3 separate regions of the Homo sapiens genome follow, and all the other regions are linked to region 3. Evidence: promoter capture Hi-C in 16 types of primary human blood cells and fetal thymus (Javierre and others, 2016). All regions are on one chromosome and are shown on one strand. Each heading gives the region's core, a stretch centred on a gene start or on the middle of the fragment in contact. The rest is flanking DNA. Distances are from core to core; before and after follow the strand shown.

The links. The method cuts DNA at HindIII sites, captures the fragments that hold promoters and counts their contacts. A CHiCAGO score of 5 or more calls a contact.
Region 1: a fragment that was not itself captured here is called in contact with the fragment with the promoter of CDC73 in region 3 in 1 of 17 cell types (fetal thymus); the score reaches 5.1 in fetal thymus.
Region 2: a contact is called between a fragment that was not itself captured here and the fragment with the promoter of CDC73 in region 3, in 1 of 17 cell types (M0 macrophages). The highest score is 5.0, in M0 macrophages.

Annotation. Positions count from the first base shown.
Region 1 is chr1:192,568,578-192,573,140 of GRCh38, forward strand. All of the region lies in intron 3 of LOC105371664 (a long non-coding RNA gene), which reads right to left. Among named protein-coding and RNA genes, the nearest start is that of RGS1, 4.9 kb to the right of the region's middle. The HindIII fragment of the contact is 682 bases long and covers 1,866-2,547 here.
Region 2 is chr1:192,584,941-192,589,867 of GRCh38, forward strand. All of the region lies in intron 3 of LOC105371664 (a long non-coding RNA gene), which reads right to left. Among named protein-coding and RNA genes, the nearest start is that of RGS1, 12 kb to the left of the region's middle. The HindIII fragment of the contact is 609 bases long and covers 2,580-3,188 here.
Region 3 is chr1:193,119,575-193,123,963 of GRCh38, forward strand. It overlaps CDC73 (cell division cycle 73), which reads left to right and starts at 2,457. Exons shown (of 17, transcript NM_024529.5): 1 at 2,457-2,757. The coding sequence starts at 2,627. RefSeq lists enhancers at 1,954-2,600, 2,505-2,574, 2,601-3,245, 2,845-2,894 and a silencer at 2,265-2,344. The HindIII fragment of the contact is 13,310 bases long and covers 1-3,601 here.

The DNA.
Region 1 (4,563 bases), core at 957-3,456, 550 kb before region 3:
TAGTAAAATAATAATAATAAAATATATAGGTATATATATTATATACACATATTATATAAATGTATACACTTTATATATATAGATATATGTAAATAGACATAAAAGCAAAGCATTAGAAAGGACATGAAGAAAGTGGAGTTAATGTGTTTGTCAGCAATAACTGGCATGGTTTTGGAAAGAACAGAACATGTCAGGAAATCTTGAGAGATTTTTCTAAGAAAATTATATAATTAATGAGGAAAAGCAAAGCAAATAAGTCTCTATTGTTAGCCACCTCGATGTTTAGTAAGAACAAAAGCAAATGAAATCACTGGAATAGTGTTATTAGAAACTTGGAAAGTTAACAGTCATTTATTGAAGTTGCTCTCTAATATTTAAAACATACCTCTGTATTAGGCCATTCTTGCATTGCTATAAAGAAATACCTGGTACTAAGTAATTTATTTTTTTAAAAAAGAAATTTAATTGGCTCATGGTTCTGCAGGCTATACAGGAAGCATAGCACTGGCATCTGCTTCTGGATAGGTCTCAGGAAGCTTCCAATCATGGCAGGAGGTGACAGGGGAGCAAGTGTCTCACATGGTGCCAGCAGGAGCAAGAGAGAGAGGGTTGTGGGGAGGGAGGTGCCACACTCTTTTAAACAACCAGATCTTGAGAGAACTCACTCACCATCATGAAGATCCTCCCCCATGAGCCAATCACCTCCTACCAGGTCCCACCTCCAACACTGGAGATTACAATACAACAAGAGATTTAGAGGGGACACATATCCAAACTATATCAATTCTGCCCCTTGCCCTCAAGCCTCAGTTTCTTCTCACACTGCAAAATACAAGTGTCCCTTCCCAACAGTCCCCCAAAGTCTTAAGACATTTCAGCATTAACTCAGAAATTCAAAGTCCAAAGTCTCATCCGAGACAAGGCAAGTCCCTTCCCCTTATGAGCCTATAAAATAAAAAACAAGTTACTTACTTCTAAGACACAATGGGGGTACAAGCATTAGGTAAACATTCTCACTCCAAAAGGGAAAAATCAGCCGAAAAAGGGGGCTACATGCTCCATGAAAGTCCAGAACCCAGCAGGGCAGTCTTTAAATCTTAAAGCTCCAAAATTATATCCTTTGACTCCATGTCCCACATGGAAGGCACAATGGAGCAAGGGGTAGACTCCCAATGCCCTGTGGATGTTTAGGGTGCAGCCCAAGTAGCTGCTCTCACAGGTTGGAACTGAGAGCCTGTGGTTTTTCCAGGCACAGGGTTCAAGCTGCCAGTGGCTCTACCATTCTGGGATCTGGAGGATGGTGGGTCCCTCCTCACAGCTCCACCCGTCAGTGCCCCAGTGGGGACTCTGTGTGGGGGCTCCAAAGCCACATTTTCTCTCCACATTGCCCTAGTAGAGGTTCTCTGTGAGGACTCTGCCCCTGAAGCAGGCTTCTGCCTGGCTACCCAGGCTTTCTTGCACACCCTCTGAAATCTAGGTGGAGGCTGCCAAGCCTCATTCACTCTTGCACTCTCTGTGCCTACAAGGTTAACCACACATGGAAGCTGCCAAGTTTTATAGCTTGTATCTTCTGAGGCAGCAGCCCTAGCTGTATCTAAGACCCTTTGAGCTGAGTCTGGAGCCAGAGCTGCCAGGATGCAGACAGCAGTGTCCTGAGGCTGCACCTAGCAGTGGAGCCCTTGGCCAAGCCCACAAAACCATCCTCCTAGGCCTCTAGGCCTGTGATGGGAGGGATTGCCCTGAAGGCCTCGAAATGCCTTTGAGGCCTTTCCCCCATTGTCTGGGATATTAGCACTTGGCTCCCTTTTCCAAGTATCTCTAGTAAATGGTTGCTCCACAGCTTGCTTGAATTCCTCTCCCACAAAAGCTTTTTCATTCCCTATCACATGGCTAGGCTGGAAATTTTCCAAACTTTTTTTCTCTGCTTCCCTTTTAAATAGAACTTCCAACTTGAAGTCATTTCTTTGCTTTTACATATAAGTGTAGGTTGTCAGAAGCAGCCAGGCCCCATCTTGAACACTTTGCTGCTTAGAAATTTCTTCTGCCAGATACTCTAAATCATCACTCTGAAATTCAAACTACCACAGGTCCCTAGGGCAGGGGCATAGTACAGCCAGGCTCTTTGCTAAGGCATAACATGCATGACCTTTGCTCCAGTTTCCGGTAAGATCCTCATTGCCATCTGAGACCTCCTCAGCCTGGACTTCATTGTCCATATCACTATCAGCATTTTGATCATGACCATTTAACCAGTCTCTAATAAATTCTAAATTTTCCATCATCTTCTCGTCTTCTTCTGAGCCCTCCAAACTCTTCCAACCTCTGCTTGTTACCCAGTTCCAAAGCTGCTTCCACATTTCAAGTAACTTTATAACAGTTCCCCCCTCCTCAGTACCAATTTTCTGTACTAGGCCATTCTTGTATTGCTATAAAGAAGTACCTAAGACTAAGTAATTTATTTAAAGAAAAGTGGTTTCATTGGCTCACGGTTCTGTAGCTTGCACAAGAAGCATAGAGCTGGCATCTGCTTCTGGGGAGGTCTCAGGAAGCTTCCAATCATGGCAGAAGATGAAGGGGGAACAGGTGTCTCACATGGCAGGAGCAAGAGAAATAGTTGTAGGGGACAGGGGCCACACTCTCTTAAACAATCAGGTCTTGAGAGAACTTACTCACCATTGTGAAGACAGCACCAAGCTATGAGGGATTCTCCCCCATGATCCAATCACCTCCCACCAGGCCCCATCTCAAACATTGGGAATTACAATTCAACATGAAATTTAGAGAGAACACAAATCCAAACTATATCACCTTCCTTTCCAAATCCTCTACATGCAGATATTTGAGCACCTCCATCATTTTTGCATTTATGTCATTGTTATGTAACAGAACATTCTATCCCAACTCCAAATAATGTGTCAGTGTTCATTTAGCATAGCTCTCCATTTATTTGGGTTTGGGAATAAGGCACCTCCTTCCATACTTACGAAATTTTATTTGCAAAGCACAGTCTAGAGTCAGACATAACTACTCTCTCTTGTTGAAAGGATTATAAGTGATAGTGTGACATTAAATGAAAATAAATCCAATATGGAATAAGTATACCAGAGATAATATTATCAAAAGATTTCCTCAGTGCTTTCAAGAATGTCTTGGAACACGGGCCTATTATCAAGAACTTAACTGGTAAAATTAGATTTAGGGTGAATGAGGCTTATTGAATCACATAAGCTCAGTTCACTGAAGGTCCCACATACTATTTTCTTGTAAATTCTCAAATTATAGAAAGGAGGCAGTCAGTGTTGACTGAAAGATTGGAGCAGAGTGAGAAAAAGAAACTAGATTCTTATCTTGCTCAGTTGCACTTACTGAGATCATTGAAGTTTAGTGTGTTGCATATATTTGCTCTTATTAAAACCCATCATATTTCTTCACAACAAAATCATAAGCAAGTCTAAAATGTTTAAACTTTTCATTCACACGATATAAAGTTTTCACCAACCCTCTATACACATACAGAGAAAAATCCTTCTAAACTCACTTTTGTTGCAGCTTTTTCAAATTTTCAAATAAACTCTATGAAATTTAGCTGAAACACTTTTAGTAGCCTTATCTATAAACCTTGAAGACCAAGGAAGCTCTGAGTGGTTATGCTAATTCAACTAAGTCATTCAGAGTACTTTTGAAAGTTTGCAAAGCTTTGTGAGTACATATGGGATCCATTTTTCCATGATCCTTCAACATAAAACTGGTCTCTTACTAGAGACCAGTTTCTCCATTGCAGCCATTTGAACTTTCCAAGGGATGCTAAACACAAATGCAGAAACAAGCAAAGAATAGATACATGTTGATTTTACAGTAAAGACAGCAGTACTTTGCTTCCTTTCTCATACTTCCAGAGGTAATTACTCCTCTGTGTTCTTTTCTCTGTACATTCCTCTCTGATGGCACCTCTCACAAACATCTGTCAGCCCCACTACACAGTGAACCCCTTAAGACAGAGATTCATTCATCTTTGTATCTGCAGTGCTTTATGTGTGATACACTGTAGGGATGCAATTAAACTTTGTTGAATCGAAACATTTTGTTTCAATGGATCAAGCTATCTTTCCACGTCACTGACTTTTCCAGTATGGATACATTTTTATTTTAAAATAGAATATTATACTCATCATTACCCCTTGTCTCACAATTCTAATATCCACAATAAGATTTTAGCAACATTTTAAAAGTTCAAACAACATCAGGTTTAAGGAAAGCACTCCCTATTAGTATTCCAGTAATTGGAGTAATTGAAACCAAATGTTTCCATTCAAATCAGTTCAGCAAAGATTAAAATTTTCCTTATTTTTCCTATCAATATCAACAGCCATAATCTGAAATGTCTTACTGAACCAATCTCCTAGGTATTTTAAAATATAACACTGGGATTTTTAGGGAAGGAAAAGTATTCTGTATGGTACTATAATGATGGATACATATCATGATACATTTGTCAAACTCATGGAATGTACAGCACCAAGAGTGAACTCTAATGTAAACTATAGATTTTAGATGATAATGCTG
Region 2 (4,927 bases), core at 1,634-4,133, 530 kb before region 3:
AAACATTCCACATGTTTTCTCTCAAAGCTCACTTTTAACTTGGACAAAAGCAGAGGCTTGCAAGACACAATCCAGGCTGAGAACAAAAAACAAGGATCAAGAAACTCAAAAGAATTGCAGCAAGTAATAGCTGTAAGGTCAAAGCACCTTTTACAGACAGGAAACAAAACCAAAATCTAGGATTCAGGCCAAGAGATGGGCAAAAAAAAAAAAAAAAAAAAAAAAACTGTCAAACACAAACAAAACCATCATGGTGACCCACAGCAGTAGACAGCGTGGAGGCCTGTGTTGAAATCAACAGTGGGGCAGGAATTCTCCCTCCTCCTGTGGAAAGTGGGTCTATTTGACTGATGGGATGATGGTAGTGCCCACTTCTTGTCAATAGAGAGAAAAATAGGACTGAAGACTTAAGGTAGCCAGTCACTCTTTCGGCACATTTTTCAGTTCAATCATCTTTGCCTTAACTCCTCAAAATGAGTGAAGATTTTTTTATCCTTTATTTTTACATAGAGAAAAGGAATCAGAATGATGTAAATTTCAGATATTATCCCATCCCCCTAAACTATGTACTGCTATTCTAGTCAAACCTAGAAAGTGAAAAATTCAGTAGGCTTGGTTTAAGTCAGTAAGATCAACACATTCTGCTCTGGTTTCATCTTTTATCCCCTGCCTTGTAACCCTCAGCATGAATTAGTGATAAAAACAGATTGTACTCGAAGTCTAGTGCTTTTTTCTTAAATCTGTCAGTTAATGAGACAAATGACCCACTATGAAGAAGTAATACGTAGAACATGTTCCCATAGGAAGAGCTAAATAAGATACTTCCTATAATGTTTCTTTGGCATAATTTTGACTAGATTGATTACAATTTATACTTTCTATGGGGGTAGTAAGAAGTGCTAAAGTAGTCTGGAAAAGAGTCTAATTATTAATTGATAAATTAACATATTTATCAGTAATGACACCTGCTATGTGCCATAAGCCTCACTAGGTGCTAGACCCACTGAAATGATAAATAATAAAGCAAAAATAAGTTCACTACGCTCTTGGGAAGAAGGAGGCAAATGGATTATAGTAAAATAGACTATAAGCATTATAAAAGAGGTATAAAGGAGAGACAAATAAGATTGTCTGATAGATGATCTGCCTAGGGGTTCTCTTCAGATCCCTAGGAAAAAGTCAAATGGGACTGGTGGCTCTTCCTCCCTATAGTGGGAGACACTTTGCATATCAGCACTGTATGCAACCTCCCTGGGCATCAAGTCACATCAAGTTTTTCTCCTCTTGCAAGCCCTCTCTCTGCTGTCACCAAATCAGCTGGGTGCTGTCTATTTGCTTCCAAAGATCCTATTTAAAAAAACAAGGGGAGGTACTGGGGAGCAGTGAGGGCAAGCTACACCTGCCTCCTCATGGGATGCTGTAAAGCTGAAGAACCATGAACATCCTGCCCCTTCTCCTTCTGCTCCTGTGGAATTCTTGGGGTTTATCTCAGCCTTCCCTTGACAAACAGGAAAAATGTGTTATGAGAGCTCAGAGGAGAGAGTAGTTTGTTCTGTCCTGAAGGAAGTTTATGGCTTCAGAGAAGTAAGAGGTACACAACACAGTGGATTGAATTCAAAGTATGCCAAATTATTTTGTGAACTTCTTGAACATTGGATGAATTGCATTCTCTGTAACTCACAAATAAATATAAACTCTGGTATTATTGGGGCCCAGAAGAGCTGGAATAAGTCAGTCCTACTAATTACTAATATTACTTTGCTCACATCCATATATTTCTACTTTAGCTATAGTTATTGTCCCAAAATTATTCTTTTTGTTTGTTTTAGGAGATGTGGTAGAGACTGTCTATCTGTTCACCAGTCTTAGGCCCTCTCCCTGGCACCAAGAAGACTACATTTCCCAGCCCTTGTTAAAGAAGATGGCAAATATAGAAACTTCTATGGATGTTTCTATACAGTTAATATTTGACTGGATATTTATTTTCCATTAGCCCTTTTACCTTAAATTTGCTACGTTATCTCAAATTGTAACTTGATATTTTACCTTGAATTATTAAAGCCATAAAACTGAGTTCTACTTGGTGAAATGTGAGCAGAAAGGATAGCCACCAGTTCTAGGCCTCGCAATAAGACATCCTAATTGTTCTCTCTTCTCCACCCTCTTCCTTCTAGAAGGAGCACTGCTGGAAGCAAAAGAACTTGACATTGCAAAGGCACATGAAGGAATTACCAAGAAGAGCCATGCATCTCACACTGGCATTTTTATGAGTGATCATAAAAGCCATTGAGATGTGGGAATTATTTGTTAGAGTCCCTAGGAAATTTTATCCTGATGAATACAAAGACACTGATATAAATTTAAATTTCTTTCAAAAAGAAATAGTTCCTTATTTCATCTCTAAAGAGATATGGATCCATCCTGGAAAAAAAAAAAAACAGGGCAATTTCTCCGTCACAATGCAGTCTTACTTAGTTCCCATATTAGACAGAGGTTATCTCTCTAACCCTGTGATGTTCTTTGAGATAGAGCTGACTGGAAGAGAAGATATAAGCTATAGATGAGAACAATATGTGAAAAGCTTATTTCAGGCACAGCTTGGGAGACGAAATGCCAAAAACAACAAGAAAAAGGGAGGTGAAGGCCAAGAAGCAGGAAAAGAATAAGTGATGGAAAATTTTACAATGGATAAAAAAACTTCGTGAAATCAATTTGGCCACGCAACATGTATTTTCCATTCATTTGCTTTGACTCAATTTAGGGCTACATCCCATACAGACATAAATGCTTTGAGGTTAAAATGGGCCAATCATCAAGTATTAGTCAGAATTCTAAGAAAATATAATGTACAGCTCTAAAAAGCATACCTGTGGTTACCTGGGATTCAGGCAGGAGGTGTGAATTTAGTACATACCAGAAAAAATAGACGCATGAACTCACAGAGCCAGTTTCCCTAAAGGACCACATAGCTACCTATGAAATAATTCATCCTATGAGGAGAAAGTTTTGTGATGCACAAATTTGACATACAAACAGTTGGACAGAGCTAGCAGAAATACTACTTTAATTATGGCTGATGCCTGACACTCATATTGTACTTTGATGAAGGTCCAGAGTCTGAGGGAGAGGAGAGAGCAATAAAATGTATGACAAACACTAAGAGGGCAAACTCCCTGAACATTCTGTGAAGCTTCCAGAACACATAGGAACAGTGTATCATTCAAGAGATGGTAAGACATTCTTCCCACATGGAGTTAGGATTCAACACTGATAGAACCAAGCCCACTGAATTGAAAATCAGATCAGTCTACAGCTAGAAAGAAGAATTGGAAGAGGTGTTTGCCTCATTAAATATCACCAACACCATTAGCAAACATTTACAGCAGCCTAATTCCTTATGGAAGAAGGGTGGTCTTGGATGGTCTCCCATGGAATAATGTCCTTCTTCCTACCCAGGTTCTCATTATTTGAGAAATAAAATTAAAAGATTGAGGTGGAAGCCAAAATATTACTGATACATGTAGGTCAAAGAACACAGCATTGGGAAAGGGTCAAAGGGGCTTGCTCATTTAATGTAGAATTAGACCAACTCACTATCCAGTGGCAGGTAATGTTAGACTGGGGCAGAGTTCCCATTTGAGGGGCTTCCCATGTGCAGAGGAAGAAAAGTAAAATCATGCTTCTTCCTAAGAAGAAGAAGGAGGCAGAGAGCCTGGCTGAGTGTGACAGGAAACTGGAATGGGGAATAGAAGAGAAAGATAATGAGTAATAGTTGTGGCCTCAAGATTAAACACAGTGGTGGTGTTGGTGAAGTACTTCATTCCACTGACCTCTCATAAGATTTCCCCAGAAAAAAAGTTCCTCCAGAACCCAACAACAGCTGTTTCCAGATGGATTTGAACTCGCTATATAAAGCAATAATATCTAGAAGATACAAAGAGTGGATGGTATTGTATACTGCAGTACACAATCTCCCTTTAGAACTGAGGTGCTCTACCTCCAAGCATCTGGGAATTTTGACTGCTAACATCTCACTGATTAGTTGTATTCCAGGAATTGCCTTTGGCTTGTGGACGCTGCCTTACCAGGTTTACATCTCCTCTTTGATAGCAGCCTGTAGTCAGTGAGTGGTCAGATCACAGTCCAAAGATCTAGCCCCCTTGTCTCAACTGGGTCAGTTCTGAAGAGCCATTCCAGTTCCAAAGCTTCTGCTAGAATCATTTGAGATCTCTGATGAATACATCATATATTTAAGATTTATTATGCATCTACTTCCAAAACATGAGTTTATCAGGTTATAAACTTAGCATATTATATAATAAAAGAGTTAATTAAATAAGGCAAAATAATCTAAAATGGAGATTTGTTCATTATTTATAAAAAGTATTTATTCAGGCTATTCTGCAAACAGGGCACTGGGTTAGGTGCTGTGATCAGTCAGCCACATATTCTGCAGTCAATATGACTACTGTTTGATCCAGAGATGGCATGTGCACAGCTAAGTATAGCATAAGAAGAGAAAAAGCCCATACGGTATTCACAACTGTAATAGATATCCTTTCTTTGATTCCAGAACAGCACTATTAGATAGAAAAAGGTGTTACTATTCCTGCTTTATAGACAGTAAATCAAGGTTGAGCAAGGTAAAGCAATTTACCCAACTAGCAGAAAATGTACTTTTTACCTTAAATCCATTGTTTATTTATTCCATTATGACAAATATTATTTGTTTGGATGATTTATTTGGAGTTGGGCTAAGGAGAAATATAACTGATGCTGATTTGAGGTAAGAGTGTTACCAGTTATCCAAATAGATGAGATAATATCTCAGTGAACATCGAAAAGCCTCTAAAGGACATGGGTTTTATACCAGCTAACCATTTTGAGAATTTGATTCATCTTGCTTGATATCCTTAATTATCTTTTC
Region 3 (4,389 bases), core at 1,207-3,706:
TATCTCTTCTTGAATTAACAGCCTCCCCCTACCCATGTATTTGAAAATTTTACTTCCAATCCTACGTTCTACCATTACAGAGTAATATAAATAAATGCTTCATGAGACTTATGCTACCTGCCGAATTATCCCTAGTAGGTTCAAGTGCATTTCCAAAATACTTACCTAAGCAGACTTTGATTGATCTAAAACCTGGCAATTTGGTCCTTTGGAAAAGGAACCAGAATAAAACTGTCCTTGGGCACTGGTGGAAAGAACCTTATTGGGTACTGTTAGCAATTGAGGTAGTGGTTTAAACTCCAAGGTAATGATGTTGGATCCATCGTTTCCAACTAAAAAGACATACCACTTTCTTCTGATTGCTGGGCATTTACTCTAACAGAAGACATAAAACTAAAGATTTTTTAGGAATTCTTCAGGAGCTAATATCTGGAGATGTGGACTGCTTTTGCCCAAGACAAAGAAACCAGACTATTTTTCTGTTTTTTTCTAATTAATTTTCTAATTTTTCAGCTCTACCACTAATCTTGCCTTTTATTGTATTTTGACATCCTCCAATGAACCAGTATTGGTAGGGCAATTATAAGGGTACTTAGATAAAAACAAAAATGATCTACAATTGCTTCTGTAGACACAGGGTCTAGGTATGTTGCCCAGGCTGGTCAGGAAAAAAATGATCTACAAATTTCAATGCTTTAACTGTTAAAAGCAACAACTTACTAATGACTTATCTTACCACTTTTTAAAATTCATTAACCTAAAAAACATAATTTCTCTGAAAAGAGAGACTTTAATCATTATTTGAGTATGAAATAAAATTAAGTATCGTTTGAAGGGACTATAGTCGAGCCTCCTAATCATGAAATCTTGGCTTCCTTGAGCTTATCTTTCCATTCATTACTTCAACATTTATTAGAAGCCTCTATCCATGTATTAACTCGATATTTACTAGGAGCTTCCATCAATTTATTGAATTCATCCATTTATTACTAATATGTACCAAATAATGTTAGACAGTAGGATATGAGGACACAGATCTATGGTGTTTCAGTTTTGTGGATGCAGGCAAATAAACTATAAAGGGAAGTAATATGGTACTGAGTGCTCTGACACAGGTATGAATAGAGAATGTGGGGATAGGTAATTGTAGCCATTTCTTTATAATGTGTGTGCTTGGGGTGAGATTCAGGAGAATACTACGGGGTGAAAACATTGGTGGAACAGAAAAAAATTTCACAAACTAACAGTTGCAGAATGGCTACAGATCATATCGGAAATGAACCACACACTTCTGTATCTGTAGTCCTCTGCGTTGTGAAAAGATTGACTTTTTTCAAAACAGGTCAAGGAATTTGGTTATGTCAAACACAAAGTTGCCTCTTTTTTCCTTCTGACATGGTAAAAGAAAAAAAACAATCCCATAGGATGTGTTTGGTTGGCCATAGTATATTGAACTTATCTTAACCGTCTCAAAACGCATGTCAAGGACACCACTGAGACTTCTGAGTACCATTTAAAAAATTGGGTAGTCTGGAAGTGTTCTAAATTGGACCGTTTGGGGTTTCTGTTAGGGCAACTTTCCCATTTACATCTTGGAACACAGCCTTTTGAATATAGCCCTTCGGGATTGGCGGGGAGAAGGGACCGCGATGGAAAAAGTCATCATCCAAAGAATGAAGAGGGAGGATCCAACATTTAGGATATTTTATTGACTTGCTAGGCGCGTTTACCTTATCTTCGTATTAACCCCATTTTCTTCATTAACCAATTGATGCTGTGAGAAGCTATGTAACTTGACGAGCAGTGCCCAGAACTGTTTTTTTTTTTTTCTGGACTCGGTCTTTTCCACTCAAAACCAACAAAAAACCAAAACTCGTTCTTTTCCACATCAAAAGCAAACAAAAAACCCCAACCCCAACCCCAAGAGCCCCACTCTTTCAAAAGGGCTTCTCCGGATCACTAAGTCCTAGAGGTCTTTGGCTAGGCCTGGGTCCGATCTAAATAGGAAGGTAATTCTAGTGTTCCGCAAATCCTTGCCGAATTCCATCCCGGCCAAAGCAGGGACCCGGGGGAGCCTCTGGTCGCACCCGAGACAGTTCGTTAAATACTCAGTGCACGTGCTGGGGATGGAAGTGCTGACCCACTGCTCAGGTACGCGCGCACCTGACGCCGCTTGGTGCGCGCCGCGGGGTACTGGGTACGTGCTCCGCGCGCGCGCGCCCGGCAAAGTTCCCCGTACGTGCGCCGTACGTGGGCGCGGTGCCCCAGCGCTCAGCGTTTCAGCGAGTGAGTGGGCTCCGTGCCCAGCTGAAGTCTGGGAGGGGCACTTTTCCAGGCGGTCGCGGCTCCCCCTGGCGGCGGATGTGCCTCGCTGGAGGGGCGCAGTCAGGCGTTCTCCGCGGGCAGCCGGCGGCGGGGCCTTGCCTTACAGCGCGGGGTCCTCGGCGGCCTGGGTGGCTACTGCCCCTGCTGCTGTCGTAGGCGAGGACGGCTGTTAGTGCTGCTGCTGTTGGTTCGTCGCGGCGGCGAAGGAGGAGGAGGAAGAGGGCGAGGCGACAAGAGAAGAAGGAGGCAGGCGCGGCGGCAGCGGCGGCGCCCCGAGCCGGCGGAGGCGAGGGGGGGGAAGATGGCGGACGTGCTTAGCGTCCTGCGACAGTACAACATCCAGAAGAAGGAGATTGTGGTGAAGGGAGACGAAGTGATCTTCGGGGAGTTCTCCTGGCCCAAGAATGTGAAGACCAACTATGTTGTTTGGGGGTAAGTCCGGCATGGCTGTGGCCCAGGGGTGGCAGGGCAGAGTTGGGCGCCCCCAGGCGACCTCTTTCTTAACCCCTCCCCCCGTTTCCCCTGGGGATGGGATAAAACGGGTGTTCGGGGAAAAGAAAGTTTCTCTCTAGAGCAGAAGTTGCACTTTTAGGGTAAGGAAAGAAGGGGCGGAGCTCTAGAGCAGTTCATCACTTAAAATTTTTGAGAAGCCCAAAGGAAAGGTACCGTGGGAGTTTCTGACTTTTACAGTTAATTTTTATCAGTAGGTATGTGTACCAGCGAAGTGTGGGACTGGTGCGCAAGGGATACCTGAACATAGGTGCACAAAGGAGCACACCGTCTGGTGCCGTAGACGCCTCTTTTTGTTCTTTATTTTTTTTTTCTCTTTTCCAGGCTGCTATGTAACTATCTCCGCTGGTCTTTGCAACTCCTGGTTTATTTCATCTCCTTTCATTGTTGGGGTGGGGGTGATTCCTGTAGAAGAGAAAAGGGAATCAACCCTGAAGTTAGGACCGGAAAGAAATTTGGTGAATTTGGAAGAGTCATAAAAGTCTGTGTTAGAGAGGTCTTCAGGAGTTGGTGAAATGAGTGAGCTTTACAGATCTAAGAAATAGATGGTGCGTGTGATTTTTCGGAAGTGTATTTTAAAGGGAAATGTTTGGGAATGTTGGTCCATGTGAAGTTTTATCAGTTTAAGTCATTCAGGAAAACTTCTAGAGACGGCTCTAACAGTCATTAGGGGCCTTTTTAATGATGTCACTGTCATTGGTGCATCGCTTCTAGAATTAGAACCTTGAGCTACAACTTCCCTACTCATTTTGTTTCTTTGAATGGAAGCTTTATGAAGAGTCGATGAAAAACTAGGGAAATTTAGTTTGTTGGTTGGTATTTATTTATTTATTTTTGAGAGGGAGTCTTGCTCTGTCGCCCAGGCTGGAGTGCAGTGGCGCGATCTTGGCTCACTGCAATCTTTGCCTCCTGGGTTCAAGTGATTCTCTTGCCTCAGCCTCCTGAGTAGCTGAGGTTGCAGGCCCCCGCCACCATGGCCGGCTAATTTATGTAGTTTAGTAGAGATGTGGTTTCACCGTGTTGGTCAGGCTGGTCTCGAACTCCTGACCTCAAATAATCTGCCCGCCTCCACTTCCCAAAGTGCTTGGATTACAGGCGTGAGCCACGGCGCCCTGCCTATTGGTTGGTTTTAAAATTTTTTTGTCTTATGATTTAATTAGCTTTATAAAATGTTGATCAAATGACATTCTGAGTTTCTGGTATTTTACCCTTTCGAATAATTTGCATAGGTAGAATTACATGTGGTTGGATTTTTAGTGAATTTTTTTTTTTTTAGACAATGGCTAAGGAGTACCTAGGGTGTGAAGTGGTTCAATCTGAGGATTAAAAAAATTCCTAAGACTCTGGTTTCTACCTCAAAGGAGGTTAACTTAGTCTGAATAGAGGAGATTAAACAGATAAGTTGATGTGAAATGCTTTCTATAAGTTGATGTGAAATGCTTTCTACAATAGCTTTTGAAGACAGCAGTCACTTCTAGTTGGGGTTATTTAGGAGAAGGTTCCATAGAATTGTCTTTGGCAAGTTCACATCCAACAAAGTTTTCTTGAATGAAT